Regions from separate parts of the Homo sapiens genome. Here all the other regions are linked to region 4. Evidence: promoter capture Hi-C in 16 types of primary human blood cells and fetal thymus (Javierre and others, 2016). All regions are on one chromosome and are shown on one strand. The core of a region is centred on a gene start or on the middle of the fragment in contact, and the rest is flanking DNA. Distances in the headings are between cores, read along the strand shown. Region 1 has its middle 530 kb from the start of SEMA6D. Region 2 has its middle 270 kb from the start of SEMA6D. Region 3 has its middle 490 kb from the start of SEMA6D. Region 4 holds the start of SLC24A5 (solute carrier family 24 member 5). Region 5 has its middle 510 kb from the start of SEMA6D.

Region 1 (2,700 bases), core at 192-2,691, 930 kb before region 4:
TTGCTGAAATTTCTCAGGACCCCCAAATAGAGATTTATTTGTACTATATACTATCATTCATGCCCTTGCTGAGTTTATGTTGATACCCTTTTTCTTCTTCAAAATTAATTGCCTTTTAAATTAATACTATGTTGGGTCTGACTCTTTTGTTATTTTTCTCCTATGTCATAAATTTATGTGCAAATATCTTCAGCATTGTCTGGTTAGAGAACTTACTGTTGAAAACGTGGGAATTAGTGGGGGGAGGGGTGAAGAGAGAAGAACAACTTTTATTAAACCTGGAGTCAGGACTTAAGACAGGAAAAGAAGGGCAAGTTTCATTTAATAAAATTCACTGAGGAATTTGTCTTTGACCTTTAAAAGTCCGAGCTGTGTAGTACATAATATACATTTGGGTAAATCAGGCACTAACTTCATAAAGCATAAGGCAAAATAAGAGAGTTTCATGGTGTCTTTGCTTTGCTACATTTGAATGGTGGCTTTAATTCCACTCACTTTTTTATTTTTGGGGGATGCTGTTCTATTTATGTAAAAATGGATATCGTCAATGTTTATTTTGGGAACATTTTATTTTAAAAGCTTAGTTTCTTCTATGAGTTTAGCTCTTATTAAATGTTTACTAAGAAAGATGATGTTTGATTCAGTTTTCATAACTAAATGCAACTAGAAACACATTGATTAAGTGATTCAAATAAGCCCATTTAAATACTAAATTTAGTCTTCTCTTTCACAAGCTATTGTGAAGAAAATGCTTTGAATTAGATTTTTATTTTAATAACCAATATTCATTTATATTTCCTGTAACGTGAAGACTAACATTAATGGGTAATAAAAATGAAACATTTGTGAAATGAGGAGATATAAGACAATGCAAATTAATGATTGTGTGTACTCTTGATACCTAGCTTTTTTTCTGATAAATTAGTATTTTTAATCTCAGGGGTAATGTAGATTTCTTAACTGATTACATTTTCTTTTTGCTTTAGGCACAAGAAAGCTCAGAGCCCATGGGAGATTTAATTTATTATCATATAAGACTCCTTGGAATGAATATATGTGTTATCTTTCCAAATGACCTTACTTTATTCTACTTATGTATACAATTTCTCTGTCATAATGTCTTATTTTGTTTTTCTTTTTCAATTGTGGAAGAAGGCAGATCATCAAAGTTGTTATGAATAAGTGTTTAGAAGTACAATCAAGCCTGCAAGTAGTTATTAAGGTCTAATATTGCAAATGCTGAGGTGACATGAGACAAAGGAGGCAAGATTTCTGATCTAAAGATACTTGTATTCTGGCTGGGTGGAGAAGCCATAAACTCCTAAGGAATTAGCTCAAAGTAAGTCAACATGTGCATACATCTGTTGCACCAAAATGAAAGCCCAACCCTGACTTTAATGACATTCAGTTTCTAGAAAAACACTATTATAGCACCAATCAGAAAAGCCAAGTAACTAAATCTTTTAATTTTCTGGGCACACTAAGACTTAAGTAGTCTGAGGATATCAGGGTGGAAATAAATGTAGAAAAAGTTATTGTGATTCCATGGTAGTGGAAACTCCCATACACTTCTCTTTCCCTTTCTCTTTCTCTTTTCCTCTCTTCTCTTTCTTGATTCCTCTGTCTCTCTATCATTGGCTTTCCCCTTGCTACCCTGGCAGACCTGATTGACAGGTGTGACAATTCCCATGGCAAGCTAATCCCACCAGGCTGGCAGCTTTTGAAATTTCTATGTAAATACAGTATTTGTTCTAAGTACCACACTTAAATACAGTAGTTAACGTTTAAGCACCCACAGGTTGTTTCTCTTTGTACTTGAATCAACAACCATTTTCAGCTCTTAGAAGGGACCACCCACAAAACTGTACTTTTTGACTGTAGAAAAACTCAGGGAGAAACAAATAAAATGAAGCAAAAAGTTGAGAGAAAAAAAACCCCAAAAACCACAAAACTAAATTATCGCTAAATTATCGACCCAAGGAGGCATGGTTAGGCTAAGGCCAAAAACTCTGAATTAAACTTCCAAATCTAACCAGCTACCTCTAGATGTAAACCTGATTTTCATCTTTTCTATCACCCACATAGACATGACTTTTTTTTCCAGACATCTTGATTACAGTTAATGTTAAAATAGCTTCAAGTCTAAAATGCAGATGTGTTGTCTTGAACTGAAACGAACTATCAAACAGACAATGATAAATAATGATCATTTAAACTTGGCCTTTTAAAAAGCACATTGGATACAATAAAAATCAGTGTATTAGTACACTAAATGTGCTTCCAATTATGATATAAATAGTGCATAAAGCTTTAAAATTTTCATCAAATTAATGTATCACTGACATGCAAATTAACTACTGACATCTATGGTGTATGCCATGTGATGATTTCTAATTGGCAAGTGAACCTCAGAGGATTATTTATAGATTACACTGCAACAAAGTGCTGGAGTAAATTCGCATTGTGCAGCTCAATTCAAATTGGTGTTTGAGCTTTGATTCTCTTCACTTTTTCACACCCCTTTTGATCTCCAAAGGCTCTCAGAAATAAGCTAGCTAAGGTGCTAAATATCTAATTAATAACATTTGGGCAGAGAATTTGTCTTCAAATGACCCCTAAGAGATTTGGAGACCAGTTAATATCCCTCACTAGCTTGTTCAGGTATGAATAACTCTTGAGGCTGTTGAGTTTGAACTCCAA
Region 2 (2,700 bases), core at 25-2,524, 670 kb before region 4:
GAGATATATCTACCTGGTTTGTCCAGTGAAAGAAGGTGCAGAAAACACACAGGTTATGGCAAGGATTTTACCTGAACACCAAGTACACCCTTGGGATTCTGGGAGTGGGTTTCAGGAGCCCTGTGAACCCAAAATCGAATGCAAAATGGTTGATGTGCATACTACTGGGCGATCAAAAGCTTCCTCAAAGAGGCCTGTGACCCCCAGAAGTCTAAGAACTACTTGAGTAGAATCTTGGTGAGGATGCATGGACATGGAGGATGGTGGTTGGAGCTACCAGTGTGATCCAGATCAATCACAGCTTCCCAATACTACAGAGCCCTACTGGTACCATTTTTATCCTAGAGATAAATATAAGTGCTGGATGGGCCTAAGGTTGGTGACTGGATGAGGAGTGAGAAATCAGAAAATGACTTTGGGGAAGGAATAGAAAGGTTACATAGGAGAGCAGGTGGCTGTCCCTTTCCCCACAAACCCAAATCATTTTTCCCTCCTGGTCTGAAAATTTTATTTAGGTTTATAACCTGGAATTCTAACAACTGGGGAATTCATATGATTTAAGTCCTCCCTTTGTTCTCACTGTTTCCTTTACCCTCTTTGCACTTTCTCAATTATTAAATAAACCCTGCTGGATCAGTGGTCGTGTGAGGCCAAGAGTGGGAGAAGAGATTGACTGAGGAAAAGCTGGGGGGAATATTTGCAGGCAATGGACATGCTGTTGGTCTTGATTTTAGTGGACATTGAATGGTACATTAAAAATGGATACATTCTATTGTATGTAAATTATACCTCAATATAGTTGATTTAAGACAAAAACCAAACATTGAATTGCTGTTCACTCCAGTTCCCACCTGATCGCGTCTTTTTGTGAAGGCCATTGGTACTTAGTGTTGGTATCTTGTGTTGTTCATACGTAGACCTCAGTTACTACTTCTTTTCCTGGATAACTCCCCTACTAACCTCTTAGTCCCTTAAAGCCTAGACCAGAACTTAATTTTCGTCACTCTTCTTTGAGTTCTTCATAGCAGCAAGCACTAAATTAAAACAAAACAAAACTCACTAATGATAATAACGATGAGGCAAATCAATAATTTTGTTCAAGGAGCTCTTCAGTGTCCATTCAGTCTTATAGAAACCTATCATCACTACTTTTTCAGGAATTGAGTTAAGGGTGTGTTTATCAACCAAAAAAAAAAAAAAACTGGACTCAAAGTCACACGACTTGTGTTCAAGTTGCAGCTTTGACACTTAGCATCTGTGTAATCTGGGCAAGTTACTTTATGTTTCTAAGCTCCAGTTTATATCTTTACATAGAAGAATAAATATTTATTTTATCTACCTATGGTGATGTCTTCAAAAATTATAAGACCACATGCAATTAGTGGTTTTTGTAGTGTGTACATAGCATAATAAAACCTTTCTTTTATCATAAAAAATACTGACATTTTTAAGGAAAAAAATCTTGAATTTTAATGGGATGTTTTTGGGTTTGTTTTATTTTTTAAATAATATTTTCTGAAACTTCTGGAATATTTTTATTACATGATTATGTGATTGAGTATGAAAAACCATTTTAAATTACCATAGCAAATTGTTTGACCTACTTCTTCTCTTTGGCACATTTTGGAGATCTTTACTTTGTTTCATTCTCATTAATAGGAATTTCAATTTGGTCTTCTTAATAACAGATATTTCAATTTCTGTTCAGTAATTTATTATGGTATCATGTCAAATAATAGTATTTATTGAATAACAGCATGAACATTTTTTATTTTTAAATGAATGTATTTACAGTTGAAATTATCCCCATGAGTTTTTTATTTGTTTGTTTGTTTTAGTTGATTGTTTTATGATTGCATTACCTTCTCATTTGTAGTTCATTTAAAAAGAAAAAGTAAAGCTCATACCACAGCAGATAAATCTCCAGAATCACTATCACTTCCTGTTTCAAAATTGAAATGATTTTTAAAAACAAATCTGTGCTTTCTCAACTTTGTTCAGAATCTAAAATAGTGTCAATGTTTGCCAAGCTAGAAAGTAAAATATTAGGATAAAATTTAATTTCCAAGTTCCCAAAAGGTCATGGAGAGGCAAATGAGAAAGATAAATTTAATTAATTTATTTTAAATAAAAATGACTTAAGTGCCCTTTCGAAAAAAAAAACACCCTTTCAACAAATGTGTTTTAAACAAAAGTGACAATTTCTATCGCTTAAAGAACAGATATGAAAAAAGTAAATCAACAATGCTAAACCTCACATAGAAATCCATCCACAGTGAATCTGTAGAGGTTATGACAACAGCTATTAAAATGATAGCTATTACATTTTACAAATCAGCTATTAAAATATCTGAGTTCATTATGTGCACAAAAGCTTTACATCCCACTGAGAAGAAAGAGCTGGGAATGTTACTTAGGGTCTATCTGTATTTCGAGGTCAGGGAAGAGTCCAAATTTATGTAGTAACAGCACGTCTGCAAGTTTTCAGTTTGCTTCCATGAACTAAAACCAATAGCCCCACTCCACAAAGAGGCAGAATCAAATGTCACTGGTTTGATCTACTTCAAAACAGGAGCCACTTCTAATAGCTCTTTTCAAAAAGATGGCGTAGAAGAGAGATCAAGAGCCCATGTGGATACCATCTTTGGCCAGAATTTCTGGCATGCCTTACACAGGCTTGAAAAGTATTGCAAATGAAGC
Region 3 (2,700 bases), core at 147-2,646, 890 kb before region 4:
TATATATATAAGAATTCATATATATGTGTGTGTGTACACACACACACACACACACACACACATATATATATAACCTTTTGTTACTTTAACTTATTGATGGATATGTCATACAAGTGATTGAGTCGTACCAGCAGCCTGGAACCATGCCTGTAGATCAGCTGCTTTACCAGGAAGAACATTGGTTTTGTATGAAGACAAATGTAGATTACTCCTGGCACTGGTACTTTTGACCTGGGGCAAGTTTACTGCTTATTTCTTTCCTTGGGTTAATCTATGAGGACTTAATAAACTATTGTCGGAAAATGGTTGCACAGATCAAATAAGATGTTAAATGATAGCTCTGTCCCAGAACCAATAAGCCTTGGTAAATGTTTGTTTATCTCTTTTATTTGTTAAATCTCAGTCAGTTCCTAGTTGAAGTCACTCATATGTAGAGAAAAAATAGCTGATGTTCACTGTTACATTGCAGGTAACTCAGATGTAGCTTCCTCCTTTTTAGTTTAGGGCTTTGACATATTTGAGTTTATCAGATGAATTAATTGTCACCCTGGAAGGCTGAGACCAGGATGCCCTACTGAATTGCAGACAAGTGGAGTTTTTTTAAGGGGACTTAGAAAAGAGAGTAAAATAAATATAGAAGAGAGGCAGGAGACTGGCTATAACAAATCTTGGCAGTCTGAGTTCACTTGGCCAGAGACTAGCCCTCTATGGAGTGCCAAAGTGGGTCCCTGTATGTAAGGATGAGGTTTCACCTAGTGACAAATAAATGACCATGAATAAATTATTCTCTCTGTATCCATCACAGCTCCTAGAAAATTGCCTTGCATATGGCAGCTCTCAGTGTTTAATGAGTGAATGATTTATTCAATTAATCACTGAATTTTAAATGGATGGGCCATGAGAGATCGTATAATCCCAAACTGTTACTTTACACCTAGGAAACTGAAGCTTACTTATTGTCTTACTGAGCGTATACTAAAGAGACTAGACTTTGGTCTACTGACTCCAACATGAGGCTCTATGCTACTGCTTTGGGGATACAGGATATACAGAACCTTCATTTCAAACTAGAATCAGATAAAGAGTTGACTTCTTCCAGCTGCTGCCTTTTTCTTTCTCCACAGATAAAAATTCCCAGGTGTCTTTCTCATGGCTCTAGGACTAAAGATCTATTTGTTTTCTAATTAAAAACACCCCAAGCATCAGATGCTATTTCTTTGTCTTAGTGGCTCAGAATATCTAGGTGCCCTGTGGTGTGCTATGCTTTTAGGTCTCTCCATGTGGTCTTAAAAAAATGGGGGATGCAGTTTATGGTCATGGATAATACATACTGAAATTTGACAAAGGTCAGTAATTGTGCCCCAAGATGCCTTGTGCTATACAGGTTGTGAGGGTGTGCTGGTGTGCAGATATTGGCTCAGTCTGTCACAGCTGATCTCCTTTATTTCCCATTTGTCTGCTGTCATTTGTCCAGACTCTATACTTTATATGCATACTGTTCACTTCTGCATACCTTTGGTACTAGCATTTGGCTAATCAAATTCTAAGATGTCTGCAGGACTAGCTGAAGTCATATTTGCTGGATGATGAAGCTCCCGTTCCTTGACAATTACAGTCATATTGGTCTCCTTCTCCACTGCATTCTTAAAACCTTTGAAGTCTGACCATCCTTTATTCTTTATTATGTGTGGGACTGAATATGTTCTATGCTTGTATCTTCTCTAGAAGACTGATAACATATTATATTTTCATTGAATGAATGTTTGGTCAAAGTCTGCTTTGGTTAGCGTTGCCAGATAAAATATAGAACACTTAGTTAAATTTGAATTTCAGATAAAGAATGAAAAGCTTTTTAGTATAAACCTGTTCCAAATAGTGCATGAAACTTTATTGTATTAAAATTCATTGTTTATTATCTGAAATTCAAATTTAACTGAAGTTTTATTTTTATTTGCTAATTTTGGCAACTCTCTTGGAAGTGTTTTTACTTCAGGCCTCTCTTAGAAAAATTCTTCTTTGTGGCAAAGAATATTTGAGGATTAAGCAATCTGCAAAACTTTTATCTTAACCTATAAAGCATAGGTCTGCCAGGATTTTTTGATTAATCTGCTCCAGTTTTTGCCTGTGTAATCCTCACACTCTCATTTAATAAAATTTATTGTAACATAAGTTTTATTTTTCTTATACAGAATATAATCTATGTAAAGTTGTATATCTTGAATATACAAATACTTTTCATGAATGCTAGATTTCCATGGTTACATATAAGAATAATTAGCATGTAGAATTCAAACAAGAAAGCACCACCAATAACTGACATATAAATGCATAAACATCACTATAGTGTCAGTTGTGTGAGAGTAACGATTTGCCTGTGTTTCCTTCTGTCTCCCATCTCCAGTACCTAACACAAGTGGTAGGTGCCCTATAAGTAGCTGGCTCTTACTCTGCCTTCTCTATCTCATCCATCCTTCTATAGACATTGGAGTCACAGGTCACCAGGATTTCTTCCTTTATACTCTGCTTTCTAAGTCAGTGGTTCTCAAAGTGTCATCAGTCCCTTGGCCAGCAACTGTCGGCCACACCTGAGAACTTGTAATAAATGCACATTCTTAGGCCCCATTCCTGAGAAAGGGATGAGAAACTGCCTGAGAAACACTAGGGGTGAGGCCAACAATCTAGGTTTTAACAAGCACTGCA
Region 4 (2,700 bases), core at 126-2,625:
TGAGACTTTCTTCCGACCCAAGATCACAAACATCAGGAAGCAACTTACTCCGTTCCATCAGATAAAGCTAGTTTCTAAATAGAAAACTTACTAGGCATATCAATTTTTGTGTTTTTTCTGCAAAGCAAAGGAACCATGAAAGTTGCAAAACTACAAAAATTTTTATGAACAAAAACGCTTCTATTTCAATTGAAAGAAAGAAAGAGAAAGAAAAAGAAAGAAAGAAAGAAAGAAAGAAAGAAAGAAAGAAAGAAAAAGAAAAGAAAAGAAAGGAAGAAAGAAAGAAGGAACGAAGGAAAGGAAGGAAGGAGGGAAGGAAGGAAGGAGAGAAAGAGGAGGAGGAGAAGAAAGGAAGGAAGGAAGGAAGGAAGGAAGGGAGGAAGGAAGGAAAACAAACAAAACAAAGAAAAAGAAAGGAAGGAATGAAGACGTCAGCCAGAGGTCGTTCTGAGCAAATTATTTGCGTTCATTTTTGTAATTCTTACCACAACCCAAATACAGGTGATCCCTGTTTTACAGATAGCAGAACTGTGTAGCAGAAAGGTTAAATAACATGCCAAAAGTCACATAACTAGTAAGTAGCAGTGCTAGGGCTCAAATCATGTGGTCTGGTTCCATAGCCTGTGCTATTAGCTATAGGTTACTACACTGCCAAAAGTTCTAAATATCTTGGCAAGCCTCATAAATGTTAGCATAGGGAAGATAGTAGTCTATATTTAAACACTACCTTGTACGTCAAATTTGCATTTTAGATAGCTCCCTCTGGCAGAAAGCACAGCCTATCAATGATCAAATAGCATCCACTCCATCTCAATAATTCTTGAAACTGTCAGCTACTCTCCATCCCCGTTGCCACAGCCTTGGTTCAAGCCACTATCATTTCTCAGCTAGACGATTGCAATGATGCCCTAACTGGCCTTTCTCCCTTTGGCCCTAACTGAAGATGAAGATGAGAGGCTAAAACAGAAATATGAAAGGATGCCGAGCTAGCCAAAGCATGTACATATATTAATATCAACCCAAACAACTTCTAGGGGAAAGGGCTGGAGAGAGATGGGAAGCAGTTGCAAACCCAACTTTTTACAAATCTAGAGAAAGTCAAAAGCAGAGCCAGTATGAAGACATTAAATAAAACCACACATTTTCATAAAGTACAAGCTGCCTTAATCTGCCCTTAGAGACTGTAGGCCATGGAAATAGCTATAGACAATGGTTGTCAGCTCTCCTCCGTCTCCTCCGGCCTCCCTGGAGATTGGGTCTCCTGATCAGAGAAGCTTGACTGGCTACACTCGCCCTTTCTCCTGTGCTGGCCTTGCTGAGATGTGCCCTGGGCAGGGTATTGGGCAGGAAGGAGACTCCTCACATGATCCAGTTTAATCCTCCTCTTCTCCCTTCCTGAAGCTGCACGCTGCAGTAAGAGCACAGCAGAAATGCAGACAAAAGGGGGCCAAACATGGGCGAGAAGGGCTCTGTTGCTCGGCATCCTGTGGGCCACTGCACATCTGCCTCTCTCAGGGACCTCCCTGCCCCAACGTCTCCCAAGGGCCACAGGTAGGTGGACATTGGGGTCAGTTAGCTCTGCAGCAGCAGCTGCTGCTGCTGCTACCACATACAGATGAAGGGACAAAAAGAGGAAAATTCTCAATGGGCTCACTTTTACTTACGCTTCTGAATTTTAGCATTTAAAAAGATATCAAACACTTTTGATCCTTCAAATAAGTTCTTAAATATACTCCAAAGTAATTCACAGAGATCATAGTAGGCCAAGTCTCCAGTTTTTGTTCTTGGAGACTTTTTGGTGAAAACAAAAAATCTTTCATCTTAGAAATTCTCTCTGCAACAGTGGATGGATTCTTTGCAGGCCTGTGAACAATTTAGGCTCTGCAATGAGAAAACGAAATTGTATAAACAATAGAAATCTTCATGTATCAGAGATACAGTTTCTACTTGGGGAAGAGAGATTCAGAAATAAAAACAAGGAGGAGTGATTTCATGATTTCCTCTTTTTAATTCTTCACCATCATCAACATATTTCATTAAGATATCTCTTTTCAGTCCCCCAAAAAAATTTTTTGAAAACTCTACAACTGTGTTATATTCAGAAGCGCTTTATACATTTTCAGTGGGTCCTTAAAATTCCACCCGGTTACCCCACACTTACAGATTTCTTAAGGAAGCTCTCTGTGGGCTTGGAATGTGTGACTCCAAACTCTTCAAACTTTCACCTCCTTTTCCTTAACAGGAAATAGCACCCAATGTGTTATTTCTCCATCATCGGAGTTTCCCGAAGGGTTTTTCACGAGACAGGAGCGCAGAGATGGAGGCATCATAATCTATTTCCTAATTATCGTTTACATGTTCATGGCCATATCTATTGTCTGTGATGAATACTTCCTACCCTCCCTGGAAATCATCAGTGAATGTAAGTGGCTGGAAAGTTGCCCTGTAACCTTCTGGGAGAGTGTGCCACACAGATATGACTGTCTTTGAAATAGCTCAGCAGCTGTCCTGTACTTCTCAACTGGTTGCAGAGCACCAGCTTCTTGTTGTGGGGTCCCGTGTCTTAAGGAACTGGTCGAGTGTGGTTTCTCTTGGTAGTTAATGTGAATCAGAGTTTCTTCAAGTTAGAACCCGGCAGTTATTATTTTTCTGCCTATTTCCAGAAATCTCTAGTTTGTCTACTGCCTGGATGTTTGTTAT
Region 5 (2,700 bases), core at 135-2,634, 910 kb before region 4:
ACCCTGAAATGAACTATCAGCTTCCTTCCAGCCTCAGAGCCCGTGAAGATTTTTCTCTACCTGCAGCGTCGCATTTGCACTACATTTCCATGTCTAAGGAAAACAGTAGCTTCCATCCTAGCCAGCAGTTACTATGTTGTGCACAATTACGCAGACATAATAAATGCATGGTTCTCGGGTGGTCATGTGTGCATGTTCTGATTGGCTGCATCTTCTCAAAATCAGGAATTCTGCTCCTCAGCTCTACAGTATGAATGTGTTCACTTAGCCAACGGCATTCCTATCTGTCACAACAGCATTCCTGCAGCCCTCTCCCCACCATCCACAGGCCGAAATCCTGGTCACAGCAAGCTGCTCCCACTGGGGTAGCTTCCAAAAACCAACAAAAGCAAATTAGTGTTCCTGGTTTGCTTCAGAAACAAACAGCAAAGAAGCCTCTCCAAAAATGCCTTAAAAAACAAATAAGAGAGAGAAAAAATAACTTCAAGGGAAAACCTACCACTACTCATGAAGGAGGCTCCAGGAGAAAACTTCAAAAAAGATAAATGGTTGCTGAGGACTGTTTGCCCATTAGCCTGTGGTGGGCAATTAGGCAGCAGTGGAAGAGAGAAGGAATGGCTCAATTCACTTGAGGGTCCTAGGGAGCCAGCCTTGAAAGAATTTTAAAAAGAATACAGTCACTTGATTTAATTAATATGATGAAATGAACATTGATTATATTTAATCTCTCCATTGACTTGCAGTTTTCCCATCATTTATACATGGCTTCCTCCTTTGCTCCATTTGTGCTTGACCTTCTTATTTCCTCCTCTGTGCCACTATGGTAAAGAAGCCCTCCTGCTATATCTCCCATTTACAATGCGGTGAGAGAATTTCTGGGTTTTAAAAAATCATGAGGGCAGTAGGCAATTGTCAGTCAGAAAACTCTTCTGAGTCTCTTTGGAAAACCATTATTTTATTACCCTTTTCCAATAATACTGACCTAGAAACCTAGACAGTAAATATTAACTGAGAACCTATTTATGAATCAGGCACAAGTCTAGCCATCATGGGAGGTCCAAGTCTAAGTAGTGCTTTGTCCTTGTGCTCAAGAATTTCATGGTTTGAGAAGAGGATGTGAAGATTTGCTGGTAAGGTTCCAATTTAGCAAATCTGCCTGGCTACCCTATTTGTCTTTCCTCCTCTTCTGGCTCCTTGCACCTAGGCCATATTTTTCATGAAAAAGGCAGTCCTCTAAGAGAAAAGGGCTCTAAATTGTGGCTCCCAAACATGGGTCCTTGGAGCAGTACCTCCAGAATAACCACTGTGCTTTCTGAAACTACTTCATCTAGTACGAGATCAGAGTACCCTGGGGAGAGGACTAAGATGTCCATTTTACAGATGCCTTCTAGGGAATTCTGGTACTTCACCAGGTTGGGAAATCAACATCAGAGGTACCAATAATGGACAGGAGGGAGTGACTGTGGAAACAGGTACAGTAGCCACTGGCGCGCGCGCACACACACACACACACACACACACACACACACACACACACACACACACACACACACTACTGTAACGGTTAAAGACTTTCAGCTGTGGAGTCAGATTACCCAGGTTTAAATCCTGTCTCTGCCACTTAGAGCTGTGAGATTTGGGGCTTGTTTTAAAACCAACTGGTCTTTAGTTTCCACATTTTTTTTAAATGAGAAAAATAATATGACCCACCTCATGGGATTATTATACTGATTAAATTAGTTAACGTATTAAAACCATTTAGAATGGTGCTAGAGATACAGAAAATACCGAATAAGTATTACCTATCTTTATTATCACTATAATAAGGAAGTTTATGCTTAGAGTCTTAGGAAAATACAGGTGAGATATATCTTCTCTATTTAGTCCTCTATATTAAATAAAGCATTAAAAACCTGCTGATACAAGAGACCTTCTAAATACTAGGTGATTTTTGAATCGTGTTTCAGAAGAGGCTTGTAGGCTGTTTTGTGTTTTCTGTGTTCAGCAGATGGTAGTAACTAGCCACTACCCTCATCATTACACTATACTGCTATACATTCTATTGCTTTCCATTTCTTCAATATAAAGATCTCAGGAACAATGAAAATTATAAAGCATAGAAGAACATTAAACAGTTTTTAAATCCCATTAATTGTCCATTTCTCATCATGGTCTTAAGTGAGCCCCAAAGTAATAATGTTCAATTATATTTGAGTCAATCAAAAATATTAATATTTCTTCTTATCATTGGGCAGAAGTTGGTATTCTCATTCCAGGACGGTTTCTGACTACCAGATTGGTCTTGGGCATGTCCTATAACATCTTTGGGCTTAGTATTTTCACTGATAAATAAGATTGGGTTGACCTCTTGGGATAACTAGAGTCCCTCATACTGCCTGTGGTTTCTTTCACTCTGCTGTTTGTCCAAATGTGAGTAACAATAAAGGAAGAATTTTCACTAATAAGAAGGAGTCCAGTTTCAGGATGTCAGCTGGACCACATGCATAGCTTGTAGATCTCTCCTTTTTACTCTTTGAGATATTCTTTGTTTTCTGCAATAGCTAGACCCAAGGCCATTCCATTATTTCTAATAGGTAGGATAATCTCATGTTTCAAAAGTATCAACTATATATAGTATAGTTCAATAAAATAATACATGGGGAATAAAATATTCAATAAAATATTAGTACATGGGGAAAT

What was found. Contacts are between HindIII fragments. The CHiCAGO score rates a contact against its expected background, and 5 or more counts as called.
Region 1: a contact is called between a fragment that was not itself captured here and the fragment with the promoter of SLC24A5 in region 4, in 3 of 17 cell types (M2 macrophages, M0 macrophages and endothelial precursors). The highest score is 8.3, in M2 macrophages.
Region 2: a contact is called between a fragment that was not itself captured here and the fragment with the promoter of SLC24A5 in region 4, in 1 of 17 cell types (M2 macrophages). The highest score is 5.3, in M2 macrophages.
Region 3: a contact is called between a fragment that was not itself captured here and the fragment with the promoter of SLC24A5 in region 4, in 2 of 17 cell types (M0 macrophages and M2 macrophages). The highest score is 5.6, in M0 macrophages.
Region 5: a fragment that was not itself captured here is called in contact with the fragment with the promoter of SLC24A5 in region 4 in 1 of 17 cell types (M2 macrophages); the score reaches 5.8 in M2 macrophages.

What each region holds. Positions count from the first base shown.
Region 1 is chr15:47,187,576-47,190,275 of GRCh38, forward strand. It overlaps a transcript of SEMA6D not described here. Among named protein-coding and RNA genes, the nearest start is that of SEMA6D, 530 kb to the right of the region's middle. The HindIII fragment of the contact is 1,729 bases long and covers 578-2,306 here.
Region 2 is chr15:47,451,135-47,453,834 of GRCh38, forward strand. It overlaps a transcript of SEMA6D not described here. Among named protein-coding and RNA genes, the nearest start is that of SEMA6D, 270 kb to the right of the region's middle. The HindIII fragment of the contact is 2,195 bases long and covers 178-2,372 here.
Region 3 is chr15:47,228,103-47,230,802 of GRCh38, forward strand. It overlaps a transcript of SEMA6D not described here. Among named protein-coding and RNA genes, the nearest start is that of SEMA6D, 490 kb to the right of the region's middle. The HindIII fragment of the contact is 900 bases long and covers 947-1,846 here.
Region 4 is chr15:48,119,615-48,122,314 of GRCh38, forward strand. SLC24A5 (solute carrier family 24 member 5) reads left to right here and starts at 1,376. Exons shown (of 9, transcript NM_205850.3): 1 at 1,376-1,551; 2 at 2,243-2,422. The coding sequence starts at 1,431. The HindIII fragment of the contact is 6,566 bases long and covers 1,273-2,700 here.
Region 5 is chr15:47,206,498-47,209,197 of GRCh38, forward strand. It overlaps a transcript of SEMA6D not described here. Among named protein-coding and RNA genes, the nearest start is that of SEMA6D, 510 kb to the right of the region's middle. The HindIII fragment of the contact is 8,594 bases long and covers 1-2,700 here.